4 separate regions of the Homo sapiens genome follow, and regions 2, 3 and 4 are each linked to region 1. Evidence: promoter capture Hi-C in 16 types of primary human blood cells and fetal thymus (Javierre and others, 2016). All regions are on one chromosome and are shown on one strand. Each heading gives the region's core, a stretch centred on a gene start or on the middle of the fragment in contact. The rest is flanking DNA. Distances are from core to core; before and after follow the strand shown. Region 1 holds the start of CARD19 (caspase recruitment domain family member 19). Region 2 overlaps FAM120A (family with sequence similarity 120 member A). Region 3 overlaps FAM120A (family with sequence similarity 120 member A). Region 4 overlaps FAM120A (family with sequence similarity 120 member A).

Region 1 (3,530 bases), core at 978-3,477:
ACCTTCTTATCAGCCCAGACTGATGCCCTCAGCCTGGCATTCAAGGCCCCGTGGGAGCTGGCCCCACCCACTCTCACCGGGCCCTCTAGGCCCACAAGACATCTCAGCCCAGGCTGAGAATACCTGTTCCTTGGTTTCCACCTGGTTAATTCATGTTCACCTTGCTGTTCTACGTGCAAAAGGCCTTCCTGAGTTCCTGTCATCCCCAACCAACTGGAGTCCAGACACTTGGGCATCAACCTCCTCTCCCGAATTTCTTCCAGGAAACCCCTTCTCTCAGTGCTCAGCCCAACTAAAACTGCTCACTCCCCGGCACAGCCCAGGGGGTAACTTGTCAAGCACCTGCCCCACGCAGACACCTCCTCAGCGTTCTGCAGGCACTGGCTCACATGCGCTGCTCACAGCGAGGGCTGGCGCAAGGCAGGACCCCAGTTGGTGCATGGAGGCAGTGAGCCTGGGACTATGGGTCTGCAGCCTCGCAGGGCTGTCCATATGACCCTCCCAGAGCTGTGCTCCATGGGCCTTGGTTCCCCATCCCAAAAACTAAGGGTTGTGAGGGAATGTCTCCAGGCCCAGTGAGTAGACATAGCAGGTAGGAAGCATACACTGGACAAGGTGAGGCCTATAGTCAGAGCCTTCAGGGACCCCTGCCTGATGTGGTTTCCCAGCTCCAGGGTCCCCTTATGCAAGGAAGCTTCCCTGACAGGCAGAAAGGGACAAAGTCCCTTTGTGCAGGAAGGCTCCTTAATGGACAGCAAGGCCTCAGGCTCTGCCAACACCCAGTCCCTGGGACAGGGCTCCCTGGAGACCAACACAGCTCTGAGTTGTGTCCCACGCATTCTGATGAACTCACTAAGGGAATTACGGAATCCCAGCCTGGGCAGGGCACAATTTAAGACTTTGTTTCCCCATCTGTACACAGACGAGATATTCCAGGTGTCCCCATCTGATCATTTTCAAACAGGAATCACCCAACACAGGGTCCAATGCACAGTAAGTGCTCAGAAATGAGAGCCACAAATAAGAAGAGTTAGAAGGGAGGACAAAGGGGAGCAGGTGGCAGCTGGGGTCTCTTGTGGCCTAGGCTGGAAGTCTCTTCTGGCCTGGTGTCCTGGAAGTCATCAGTTTCCAGCCCATGAGATCCTATTTGTGGGCAGGACCTAGGCTGAGACTCAAGAGAGCGAGCACCGAGAGAGGACTAGGGACTTCTGGGGCTACCCTGAGCCCCTGAGCCAATTCTGCTCCATGAAACAGAACAGTAAGAATGAAGTGTAGCTTCTGGGAACCCCCATACTCCCTGGCCGGGCTGCCATGGGGTCCCTTACCAGCCCATCACCCTCATGGGGCTTCTCCAACAGGGGAAGGTCCACAGGGCAGAGTCACCCTGTTTGGGATCAGGAGGATGGTGGGCAGGTCCCCAGACCAGAGAGGCCCTGGGGAGGAAGGCTGGGCTGGGGCCACTAGCGTGGAGCACAACAACCTTGGGGGGTCCAGTCGCTGTCCCCGATTCTCTTAGAACTAAACAGGGGCAAGAGCGTCGTGGACCACCGAAGGAGTCTGGGAGACTCCAAGAGTCCCACAGGAATCACATGCCGCCGAGGAACGCATCGCCTGTCCCGCGACCTCGCTGGGGTGGTTGTAAGGATGGAGCGTTGTTTCCGTGGCCAGAATCACAGCAGGACCGCTGTGAATTCTCTCCGGTGTCATTTCTACCACCTCCTACTCTTTCAGACCAAATTCCCCACCACGGGACACACACACATTGGCAGTGGCTGAGCCCAGACCGCGGCTGTGCAGCCCCACCCTGGAGCTGCCTTGTAGCCCCCGCCCTCTTCGGGCCCCGCACCTGGCCACCACCCATCATGCCCGGCACCGCCTCGGCTGGCACGGCCCCGCCGGGTAGAAGCCCCGGGACACCCACCACTTCGCGGGGGTGCACTCGCGCACCACCGACAGCTGACGGGCCAAGGTCACTCGGCCCCCGCTGCCCAGGCGCGGCCTGCAGGCGACTCGCAAGGCAGCCGGACCCCCGGGCCGGGCCACCCATCCAGGGCGCCCGCATCCCTGCCGCCCAGCCGACCCCGTGCCCACCTGTCATGGCGACGGACACAGCGCCGCCCGCAGTCCCCAGCGGTCTGCCCCGCCGCGCGTCCGCCCCTCGGTCAGCCGCCCGGTCCACCAGCTCCAGCGAACGCCGCCCGCGGGCCGTGCTCGCCCGCCCCTTTTGGCTAGGCCAGCCCCCCGGCTTTGGCTGTGTAGCCTCGGGGACTCTAAACCCCGCCCTTTGACGAGCCCCGCCCCCTACCGTTAGGCCCCGCCCCTTCCGCGCCCGCTACGGCTCCCCCAGGGCTCTAAACTCCGCCCCTCTCACTCGAGTCCCGCCCCCTTGCCGTCCTGGGATAGGCCGCTGCGAGGATCCTGGAGCCTTGCCCCTCACTCGAGCCCCGCCCCCTCCGGCGTCGGCTTCCGCCTCTCCCGGAGTTCTGAGCCCCGCCCTGCACCTGAACCCCGCCCCCTCCGACGACGGCTTCCGAGCCTCAAGGAACCCCCCACCGGGCCCCGCCCCTTACTCGAGCCCCGCCCCCCTCCGTCGTCGGCCTCCGCGCCTCCAGGGGCCCTGAGCCCCGCCCCTTCCTGCTCTGCCATGCGACTGCGGGCGTGGGCGGGCGACTGCGGGCGTGGGCGGGCGCCACCGGACTCCCGCCCCTCCCAGCGTCAGTTAAGACGCCGCGAGGGGCCCAGAGTCCCTCCCCTCGCTGGGCCCCGGTCCCGCCGGCGTCTATAACGCCGTCGCAGCGGCCTTTAACCCCGCCTCTCACTCGAGCCCTGCCCGCGTCCAAGTCCCGCCCTCAAGGCGGCCTCAGCTACGACCGCCGCGCGCCTCCCTGGAGGCGCCCGCTCCTGCCCGGAGCCCTGCCCGTCTTGGGCCCGCCCTTCCGGGCCCTGCCGCGTTGAGTGGCGGAGTCGGGATCCAGGTGGCCCGCCGGCCGGCTCAGTCCACCTCCCCGCTCCCGGCCTCGCGCCCCACCCCTTGGATGAGAAAACTGAAACTGAGAGGGGACGTGACTGATCCAACGTCATACAGAAAGTCAGGCCCTGGGGAGTACAGGGCCAGGCCTGGGGCAAAAGGCCGGTGGGCGTCCAGTACGCCACAGGGACCAGCCAAAGGAGGCAGTGCCCAGTGATGCTTTCCCAAATCCAGGGGAGAAGGACTCAACGGTGTGACCTCGCTCGGCGGGGTGGGGGGGGGACACCTTCTTGGGGGACCCCAGTCCCCCACCTTCAAAAGAAGACACTAGCTTGACAGTGTGACCCGAACTAGAGAGGTCACTTAACCTGCCTGAGCCTCAGTTTCCTGGACTGTAAAATGAGTGACCTTGGGCCAACTCCACTTCCCTCCCGCTTTCCTTCCTGCTTTCCCTCTCGTAGGCCTGGCATTTCCAGCTCCGGAGCCCGCCACAAGAAGCTCCTAGCCCCACATGATGTGAATGCACTGGGCCCCAGCCAGGAAGTGGAGACCCGTGAAGGAA
Region 2 (3,530 bases), core at 336-2,835, 420 kb before region 1:
AGAGAGCGCATTGGCCATTCACAGGTATGATCATAGCTCACTGCAGCCTCAACCTCCTGGGCTCAAGTGATCCTCCCACCTCAGCCTCCCGAGTAGCTGGGACTACAGGTGTACAGTACCATACCCAGCACAGTTGTATCTTTTTCCATTTAAAACAGTTGCCATCAGCTGCACACAGTGGCTCATGCCTGTAATCCCAGCACTTTCGGCAGAGGTAGGAGGATTGCTTGAGGCCAGGAGTTTGAAACCAGCCTGGGCAATACAGCGGTACCCCATAACTACAAATAATACAGGTTAGCTGGGTGTGGTGGAACATGTCTTTCGTCTCAGGTGGAACATGCTAAGGTGTGAGGATCACCTGAGCCCAGGAGTTTGAGGCTACAGTGAGTTATGATGGTCCCACTGCACTCCAGCCTGGGTGAAACAGCAAGACCCTGTCCCTAAAAAAATAATAATAATAATTTTAGAAAACCACTTACCTTTTTAATTCATAGGAAGCTTTTTTCTTTTTTTGTTGTCTCTTTTTTTATGTAACAATCCCCATCGCCCATCACTACCACCCTTTAAAAGAGTGCCACTGATTCATTGTTGGGGAAACTAGGCCATTTATTTTGCAGGGTGTCCCACATTATTCCTTCCTTGTGGTATCACTGAACGTACACTACAGAAGACAGGAGAAGTTAGGTCTGGACAATGAAAGGCAGAGTGCAGCAGGTGGGGTCACACCTTGCTATGCATCTAGAAGGCCAATCGCCTCCGCTATTTTACAGTCTAGAAATTATAAATGTTTCTGGCCAGGCACGGTGGGTCACGCCTGTAATCCCAGCACTTTGGGAGGCCGAGGTGGGGGGATCACCTGAGGTCAGGAGTTTGAGAACAGCCTGGCCAACATGGTGAAACCTCATCTCTACTAAAAATACAAAAAATTAGCTGGGCATGGTAGTAGGCAACTGTAATCCTAGCTAGTCAGGAGGCTGGGGCAGGAGAATCGCTTGAACCTGGGAGGCAGAGGTTGCAGTTAGCCGAGATCATGCAATTGCACTCCAGCCTGGCCAACAAGAGTAAAATTCCATCTCAAAAAAATTTAAAAATACATACATATATATAAACATTTCTACCATCAATATATTTTAAGACCAGAGTTCTGGAGTTCAACTGTTTCCACCAGCTGAATGGTCTGACTGTCCGGAGACCCACTGTCCCGAGGGCAAATGGCATCAAGGTGTGAGTAAACTCACCTCCAAAGAAACACCAGGGTCTCTCCAGCCTAAGGTCATGCTAAGCACACTCTGGATCAGGAGTGTCTAACCTTTTGGCATCCCTGGGCCACACTGGAAGAAGAAGAATTGTCTTGGGCCCCATATAAAATAGACTAACAATAGCTAATGAGCTTTAAAAAAAAAATCAGAAAAAAAATCTCAATGTTTTAAGGAAGTTTATGAATTTGTGTTGGGCCTCCATCCTGTGCTGCGTGCGGCCCGTGGGCCACGGGATGAACAAGTTTGCTCTAGATGTTTCCCGTGGCACGTAGAACACATCCAGCTGTGCACGGCCCAGCCCTGCTGGTCCTCACACCACAGGCCATCAGCTGGCTCACTTCTTTCTCCCAGTTTTCCTGCCCTCCTTTGCTCTGGTGCTCCCAGTTCCCCGCTCCTCACTCTCGGCATGTCTTCTTCACGCACTCGTCAGGGCTTCTATGTTCACTGCTTACATACTCTCCTCCAGAATGCAAGCTCTGCGCACAGACCTCATCACTCCTGTCCTCTGCCCTGTTCACTGGTAAATAAATGCCCAAGTATTTCTTGCTAAGAGAATGAATAATTTCTGTTCCCTTAGGGCCATCCTGAAAAGGCAACGTAGGTCCCGGGGTCCTCATTCAATTCTAAACCAAAGGGTAAAAAAGTAGTGACTTTTTTTCTAAACTATAAAAGCAATTCTTTGTTCTCTTATGCACAGCCTAAGGGGCACATTATACACTGCAGATACAACCAATTCAACACACTAGAACCCTTGCTGAAAATCATGAACACTGTCTCTACTTGGCACACGCGTCATACCCCTGCACCTGCCACAAGCAAAGGATGCCTGTGATCAAGGGTTTCACCCCAAGTTGAATGCTAGTTTCTGACCCCAAAGCCTTCAGGAACAAGCACCCTTGTCTCCTCTGCCTTCATTCATCTCAAGTCTAACATGTCTGTCTCTTCCTTATTATAGGGTGTACCCTGCATTCCTCATGGCACTTCATACCACAAGGATGGCAAAACACAAGACCCCGAGCAGGTCAAATTCCAGTGGCAGAAACAAGATGCATCTCCAGAAAACAGTAAAGATGCCATACCAGGAATAAAGACAATAAGCACTTGGAGAGGTCAGATGCCCAGAGCTCCAAAAAGCTGACCAGAACCTTCACAGACAGGTAGGAAGTGCATACCCAGAAAAGACAGGACATGCTCAGGCAGTCCTACTCACTCCAAGTTCAGCTCATCCTAACAAAGACAACTTGCCAAATTAGATGGGCAACTCACATTCTTCTCAATCCCTCCCCACCGGAGGAACAAGCACCTCAACTGAAACATGCCCCAGTCACCACCCACGTCCCCAAGTCAGCACCTTGACCTGGTTTCCACATCTCCATCACTAGCATGGAACTCTTGTTGGGGTCATAAAGCTTACTTCTTTTGCTTTTTGTCTTACTTCTTACCTATGTTTCACAGTTTAGAAAGAACATTTCTTACTAAGACAAAAACTGTATTGTACAGACACTTGGACCTTGCTGACATGAGTCACGTTTTACAACAAAATGCACATGCCTTAGAAATCTGGCACATAAGGGCTTCCAAGACCATCAAGCAGTTGTTCTCAAACTTCAGTGTGCTAAAGACTGACTGAGGTGCTTATTTAAAATGCAAATTTGGGGGCCCCAACCAGAGATTCTGATTCAATGGGTACTCAATATATTATCTTGCTAGAGGTTAATTTAAAAATTTGAATATTCAATTGCAACTCTTTACTTCATTTTAGAGTCTTGGCATTGCATATACAGCAAATAAACATTTATTAATTTTATACTTCTCTGCACATACAACAAATCAACATTTATTAATGTTATACTTCTCTGCTATAAACAGGGTATGCATCCCTGGATGGCAGAGAGTCCTTCAGTAAGCTCTGCCCTGGGTCAACAGACATTTATTCCCATTTCACAGATGGACAGAGGACAGAGAGGAAAAGATCACCTGCTTCAGGTGACACACAAGGTAAGAACTGGCATGGAAGCTGACACCTATGTCTCTTACATTTCCTACATCAGAAACAGATGTAACATCAACCAGCCCTGGTTATCTGCGCTGTAAAGTAGAGTTCACACCAAGGAAAAGGAGACACTGACTTAAAGAAAAGAAATATTCTTTCCCTGTTTTTTTTGTTTTAAACATAAGACAATTTAAAGAAAGGGAGGAGTGCAAATTAAAGATTTCCTCGATCAAATTTTAACCAACTATGTATTTGTGAACCCATTTATTCAGGGACAC
Region 3 (3,530 bases), core at 686-3,185, 400 kb before region 1:
CAGTATCTACTATCAGACAGTATCTGTTATTCTTATAGGCAGAATTACCTAAAAGGGCATTGAATGACTGAACAAGTACTTCACTAAAGCACCTTACATACGCCTTCTCTTTTAATATTCACATAATGACCCCATTCTATAAAATAGGGAGCTCGAGGTCAGGAGGCAGTAGGCCACAGGTGGCAATGTTCATGCTCCCCATCATTCCCACAAGCAATTATTAGACATCTTCTGTGTGCAGGGTATACAGTAGACACACTGAGATCTGGTCCCATAATGCCTCACCTTAACTGATGAAACAGTATACAGCTAGTCTCCCTCCTGCTGATGCTCTGTGCCCCCTTTTCCAAAAATAATCCTAAAACACATCTCACCACTTCACTCTCTTGATTTAAAAACCAAGTGGATCAATTCATTCAGTCAAATATTTATCCACTGGGGATATAAAAGTAAAGGTGACTAATAGGCCCTCATTACCCTAGACTTTACATTGTGGGGAGTGACGGGGGAAGGGGTGGTGGTGGTGACAAATAGAAGCCAAGGAGTGTGCAGAGATTTAAAGCCAGGCAGACCTTGGAGAACACGACAGCCTGGATCTCACAAATCAGAAGGGCACAAACACAAGCTGGTCAGAGAAAGGAGCCCTCCAGGCACAAAAGCCGGCCCAGAGGCCCAGGGCAGAAGCTAGCTTGGTTCATGCAAGGCAAGAAAGGAGGCTGCGCTCAGGAGTGAGAAGCCAGCAGTCTCAGATGATGGGGAGGAAGCAAGGTAAGTAGTTGGGAATTTATTCCAAGTGTGACGGGAAGCCAATGGGGAATTCTGAGCATGGGAGTAGCACAGTCCAACTGCCATTTTTAAACATTACTTTGGCTGCTGGGAAGAAAATGGATTGCAGGGGAGCAAGAGAGCAGCAAAGAGCCCCACTGGGAGGCTGCTGCCATTTACTGACCTCGCAGTGGAGATTCAGCCACTCCATGCCCATCTCCAGGTTACAAGCCCTACCTCCTTTATTACAGGGCATCGGCACAGGCCATGTTTCCCTGTCCACCACCCAGCCACATACATAGGCAGCCAAAGCCAGTGCCATGCCTCTGATCTCCAATGCCCAGTTCCTAGCATACAGCAGACACTATGCTTGAATAAATGAAGGGTGCAGCTCTTAAGGCCACTTTCAATCTTGGAATTAGTCTTCTCAAATAAATACAAAGTCTCCTTCCAGTAAGAGTCTCTTGAACATGCAATCATTCTTTTGTTAACTTAGATGAAGCAAACAACACAATTTAAATGAGAGTTGGGGTCTATTTCTCATACTTCTACTTACAGTTTAGTGCTTTATAACCTCCACAAGACGTTCAATATGAAGCAGGCTTCAGGCTAACAGCTTATAAATATTTTTATTTCCCAATTTCAAATCTCTGAATTAACTTTTGGTCTTTTGCAGGCTGAACGTGGTGGCTCATGCCTGTAATCCCAGCATTTTGGGAGGCTGAGATGGGCAGATCGCTTGAGGCTAGGAGTTCGAGACAAGTCTGGCCAACATGGTGAAACCCCATCTCTACTAAAAATACAAAAATTAGCTGGGCATGGTGGCGCATGCCTGTAATCCCAGCTACTTAGGAGGCTGGGGCACAAAAATCACTTGAGCCTGGGAGGTAGAGGTTGCAGTGAGCCGAGGTCACACTACTGCACTCCAGCCTGGGCGACAGTGCAATACTCTGCTCAACAACAAAAAAGAATTAAAAAAAAAAAAAGGCAGGGGTCAAGAAAAGAGAGACTACAAATACACTGCATTTATGAAATCACTTGCAGTTGTGGAGGCCCTTCTACGTCCTCAGGCAATTCTGTATTTAGAAGCGGATATCTCAGAGCTGCCAAGACGTCAACATCCCCTCGACCTGCTGCCTCATCTGCACAATGCCCTCTGATTCTTCTTCATCCTATGAAGGCTGTTAAGTTCTCTTCCTCCTCAATATTTTCAGGGATTGCTACTGAGTCTGCCCAGGAAGTTTGGCTATACTTACTGGCATAACTACAGAAAATCATGTTTCAAAAACATAAACCTACAAGATTATATGGTGAATATTTAAACCTACTTGGATTATCATATGGTCAATATTGATCACAGGCTTTTATTTACTTACCTAAGTAATGTGGTGGATGAAATGACATAGGCTTACTAGTCGCTGAATAATATCCAATTGCTCTCTTAAATCGAATAACTTTGTCATCTGTTCTAGACTGAAATAAAGGCAGGAAAACCTTCATAAATTAGTGTGCCACTGGTCATGTGTATCACAATGTTTTTTATAATTCAGCACATGTATAATATTCTACAGCTTTTCAAGTTAGAGAAGAATTTTGAATGACATTAAAACTTTCAGGGAAAATCAATAGATTACTACAAAAGAATCAAACCAAACGTGAATTCTTTTAAAGCAATGTAGTCACAAGAGCAGAACTCCAAAGTGGTAGTCAGGGCCCTGGGTTCTAGCTCTAGGACTTCCCTGACTTCCACTCTGCTCGGTCTCTGGTCCTGCCCAGAGAGGAATCTCAAGCCATCTGTACCAAGGGAACGGATGGCAGTGACAGACTGGGGATGTTCCTGCCCAGGGTTTCAGCTCTCTCTTTTTCTTCTGAGACGGAGTTTCGCTCTTTCACCCAGGCTGGAGTGCGGTGGCATGATCTCCGCTCACTGCAGCCTCTGCCTTACGGTTTCAAGCGATTCTCCTGCCTCAGCATCCCGAGTAGCTGGCATTACAGGCGCCCACCACCACGCCTGGCTAATTTTTGTATTTTTAATAGAGACAGGGTTTCACCATGTTGGCCAGGCTAGTCTCAAACTCCTGACCTCGTGATCCGCCCGCCTCGGCCTCCCAGAGTACTGGGATTACAGGCATGAGCCACCGTGCCTGGCTGCATTTCAGCTCTCTAGAGACACAGCAGGAGTTTCACAGAGCCTTGCCTATTCTACTGATGCCAACTTGTTGGCACACCTACTTCCCCAAAAAAGAAGAAAATCCCTGACAATCACCTGAAGAAAACAGACAAATCAGAGATTTATAATGCCATATGACTGACTTGATACAGTTCATGTTCTGAAAACTCTGAAATACAGATCCTATTAAGTTAAGATCGAGAACTTATGAGCAGGAGACCTCACCAACCGTCTAACTGAATCTCCCTTTTATTCAGCCTGGAAAAGCTGGGTGAAGTGGCTGAGACTTCCTGGCTGGCAGGGAACATGACCAGGCTACCTCAGCCTCTGGCCTTGCAACCTGCAGCTTTCTTCCAGTGGCCTGAGCAAGAGCTCTCAGACCCATCCAGTCAGCTTGCACCCTCAAGTCCCCTTCTTCCAAACCTGGCCACACCACTATGCAACGTCATATCCCATGAATCTGTTTTTTTGTTTTGTTTGTTTTTTTTTTTACCTGTGAATGCTGGAAAACATCTTTAGCTATGGCATCCAAGTCAGAGGTGTCCTGAATGTTGCGTACATAGTCAGCAACGGCTTTGATCACTACGTCGCAAGG
Region 4 (3,530 bases), core at 333-2,832, 380 kb before region 1:
CCTTTCTAACAGAGTATACTGGAAAAATAGCTGTTAAGGACACGTGACTTTGCATCCTCAAGCTTAAGCCTCCTTGGTCCATCCCTTTTATCATATTATATTTGTACTATTTTGCCAAAGCCAAATTTATTATTGTTCACAGAGGGCTGGTGTTCTATGAAGTTAATATCTAATCAATTCAAAGCACCTCTTAAAATGCAATACCCTACTTTGGGAGGCCGAGGCGGGCGGATCACGAGGTCAGGAGATCGAGACCATCCCAGCTAAAACGGTGAAACCCCGTCTCTACTAAAAATACAAAAAATTAGCCGGGCGTAGTGGCGGGCGCCTGTAGTCCCAGCTACTTGGGAGGCTGAGGCAGGAGAATGGCATGAAACCGGGAGGCGGAGCTTGCAGTGAGCCGAGATCCCGCCACTGCACTCCAGCCTGGGCGACAGAGCGAGACTCCGTCTCAAAAAAAAAAAAAAAAAAAAAAAAAATGCAATACCCTAATCTTAAACCTCTCATCATTTCAACATAATACAAAAACACAAAGAATATTTCAGAAAATAAAACTCAGAATATTATGGAAGATATGTAACAACTATCCAAATTTTCAAAAGATGCAATTGGTTTTACAACTGGGGAAAAACAAAGAGACTAAAATAGCAGGTGGGATACATACAATTCTGTAGCACATCCATCAGTCATGCTCATGGGGAGTAAAACCACATCCAATTTCCCCTATGTATATTAAAATCACTGAAATGGTGCTGCATACAAAAATGTGAATGAAGGGTCAAAACATTAAAGTGAGCCGGGTGCTGTGGCTCACACCTATAATCCCAGCACTTTGGGAGGCCAAGGTGGGTGGATCACCTGAGGTCAGGTGTTCGAGACGAATATGGACAACATGGTGAAACCCTGCCTCTACTAAAAACACAAAAATTAGCTGGCGTGGTGGCAGGCGCCTGTAATCCCAGCTACTTGGAAGGCTGAGGCAGGAGAATCACTTGAACCCTGGAGGCAGAGGTTGCAGTGAGCCGAGATCTCACCCCTGTACTCCATCCTGGGTGACAGAGCAAGACTCTGTCTCAAATAAAAACATTAAAGTGGCTAACAAATGCAATTTCTGAACTTATCTCAAAACCAGGTGCACTTGCATTTCATGTGTGACTTTAAAATCCTACAACGTATCAAGTCATCTGAAAAATAATTTAGGATTTCTTCTCCAATATGCCATAAAAGTACTCAGCTAATATCAAAATGCATGCATAAAGCTTGACTGGATCTCGATCAAAAAAAAAAAAACCTATAAATGACTCTGAAAAAATTTGAATATGGGCTTAATATTAAATGATATTAGACACTGCACTCCAGCACAGGTGACAGAGCAAGACCCTGTCTCAAAAAAAAAGATATTAAAGAATTATTAATTTAGTTGATGTCATAGGAGTAATATGATAAAGTATCAAAATGTCCTTATTTTTAGGAAGTGATGGAGCAAGCTGAAGTGGTGGAGCAAGCTGACATTTTCATGGGTAAAGTGTCATATCTGCAACTTACTTCCAAATAGTTTTTGTTAAACAAAACAAAACACAGACATATACTTTATGGCAAAATGTTTATAATTGTTGAACCAAGATGGGGGATATACGGATACACATTTCTCTATTCTTTCCACATTTCAATACTTAAAGATTTTCTCAACAAAATTTAGGAAAAACACACATATAATGATGTTATTCACTTGGCAATAGATTGAGCTGGTTTTCCAATAATTCTTCAAACAGCTCTTCACTTCTAACCCTGTGACATATGAAGCAGGGCTAGTTTAACTTAGACATACACATATAGCCAGAAACCTTGGGAGTATCTCACTCCTGCTCTTCAAAACAAAATAAATCTTGTAGGAAACAAGCTTTCATTTGTGTCTCACTTACAAAAGCATAATGCTTAACAGAGCTACTGAGCACAGGTGCAGTGCTCTTAAGTCCAGCTGATTACACGCTGCATTTCCCCAATCCACATTTCAATCATGGCATCACCAGAAGCTTAGAGTCCGAATGACAGATCACATCACTTCATTCATGAAAACATACAGGAGGGATTCTATGGCCAGAAATGTAATTTCTAACAAGAGAAGAAAAACTAATTTTTGAACAAGAAGTTGAAAACAGTCCATACCAAACCCCATTAGGGTGAAAAGGAGAACATTTTATAGCATGCCAGAGATGAAAAAGAAAAAGCATGCCAGAGATGAAACAGCAGGGAACAAAATGAAAGGAGGAAAGGAATTCTACTTCAGCTTTTGGGTATCACCAGAGTTAAAGGTAAATTAAAATGTAGGAAGAAAAACTCCCATTTGAAACTAGCCACCAATTAAAATTGTTTATGGAGGGAGGGTAATTACGACAACATTCAAAATTTTACAGCCCTTCGGAAAACACCCAATTTAACCGCCACTCTTTACTGTAAGGAAGCAGTCCCAGGGTGGGAAGCAGATACAAAGTCTAGGTCCCCATCTTCCTAATTCCCCAAGTCAAGAAAGGCACTTGAACTGACAAATGATCATTACAATCACAGGAGTCACTAACAAGTCCAAGCTGAAGTTTTCCAGTGCCTCGTGCATATCTCACTCATTACTCCTATGCTCACATCAAACACAGACACTTCCACTGCAGAAAATCAGAATTAAGTGCCTCATCTCTGATGTTTATTACTATCACAAACAGGAAGGGAATCAAAAGGGAGAAAAAGAATATTAAGTTTTAATAAAATAGTACAAATGGATCACTTCCATTTGAGTCTCCCTCATCATCCAAAAAGCTTTATAAACTATTTTATAATTGTAGAAAATTAGTTATGAAATTTATCAACTATGCAAAGATGTTGCTCTAAGTGACAAGTAACTATACTACCTAAAGACAAAATTAAAATTTTTAAGTAAGAAAATTAATATATAAAACATCAGCTCAAAGATTTCCTTCTATCTAGGTACACAGCACAAAGAATTCCTTAAGGGAAATTTTCAAGGACATTTATACATTTACCTAACATATAGGTGTTGAGAACAAGGGATGGTAGCATTGTTGCTTGCTTTTTAAGGCAGTGCAGATCCTGAAATTATGGGAAAACATGGTATTGCTAACTTTGTAGCATCACCAATAAAGGGCCTAACATGTTATTAAAGTAATAGCAAACTCACAGTTGATTATTACAAATGCTAGAAAAATAAAGTGAAATTTGTACCTTTAGTGAGGCTAGTGGATGTTCTGGACCAAGTAAACTCCAGTGAAAGGAAGCCAGATCTTCATCAGGCAGAATGTGATTTCCTGGAATATAAACATGGATAACATAAAAGCAATCATCTTAAGTAACATAGGGAAACTTTCAAAAGTGCTGCATATTGTCACCTATAGTAGAAAACTTTCAAACAGAAACTGAGAACAAATCTTCATCTCTTAACATAAAGCGACATACAGCAGGCAGAATCTTTGCAGCTGCTTCAAGAATGACGGGAATTTCTAGTGCAGTCCCAACAGCATTCA

The links. The method cuts DNA at HindIII sites, captures the fragments that hold promoters and counts their contacts. A CHiCAGO score of 5 or more calls a contact.
Region 2: a fragment that was not itself captured here is called in contact with the fragment with the promoter of CARD19 in region 1 in 2 of 17 cell types (monocytes and naive CD8 T cells); the score reaches 5.5 in monocytes.
Region 3: a contact is called between a fragment that was not itself captured here and the fragment with the promoter of CARD19 in region 1, in 2 of 17 cell types (total CD4 T cells and neutrophils). The highest score is 6.6, in total CD4 T cells.
Region 4: a fragment that was not itself captured here is called in contact with the fragment with the promoter of CARD19 in region 1 in 1 of 17 cell types (total CD4 T cells); the score reaches 5.1 in total CD4 T cells.

What each region holds. Positions count from the first base shown.
Region 1 is chr9:93,094,914-93,098,443 of GRCh38, reverse strand. CARD19 (caspase recruitment domain family member 19) reads right to left here and starts at 2,227. Exons shown (of 6, transcript NM_032310.5): 1 at 2,092-2,227. The coding sequence starts at 2,098. It overlaps LOC101927993 (a long non-coding RNA gene), which reads left to right and starts at 2,934. Exons shown (of 4, transcript NR_188444.1): 1 at 2,934-3,076; 2 at 3,430-3,530. RefSeq lists silencers at 1,870-1,979, 2,000-2,749, 2,770-3,079 and an enhancer at 3,190-3,239. The HindIII fragment of the contact is 15,908 bases long and covers 697-3,530 here.
Region 2 is chr9:93,516,805-93,520,334 of GRCh38, reverse strand. The region is part of intron 7 of FAM120A (family with sequence similarity 120 member A); the gene reads right to left. Among named protein-coding and RNA genes, the nearest start is that of PHF2, 58 kb to the left of the region's middle. The HindIII fragment of the contact is 2,170 bases long and covers 501-2,670 here.
Region 3 is chr9:93,497,498-93,501,027 of GRCh38, reverse strand. It overlaps FAM120A (family with sequence similarity 120 member A), which reads right to left. Exons shown (of 18, transcript NM_014612.5): 4 at 3,429-3,530; 5 at 2,142-2,238. Among named protein-coding and RNA genes, the nearest start is that of FAM120AOS, 46 kb to the right of the region's middle. The HindIII fragment of the contact is 6,327 bases long and covers 1-3,530 here.
Region 4 is chr9:93,476,040-93,479,569 of GRCh38, reverse strand. It overlaps FAM120A (family with sequence similarity 120 member A), which reads right to left. Exons shown (of 18, transcript NM_014612.5): 3 at 3,232-3,314. Among named protein-coding and RNA genes, the nearest start is that of FAM120AOS, 24 kb to the right of the region's middle. The HindIII fragment of the contact is 641 bases long and covers 1,262-1,902 here.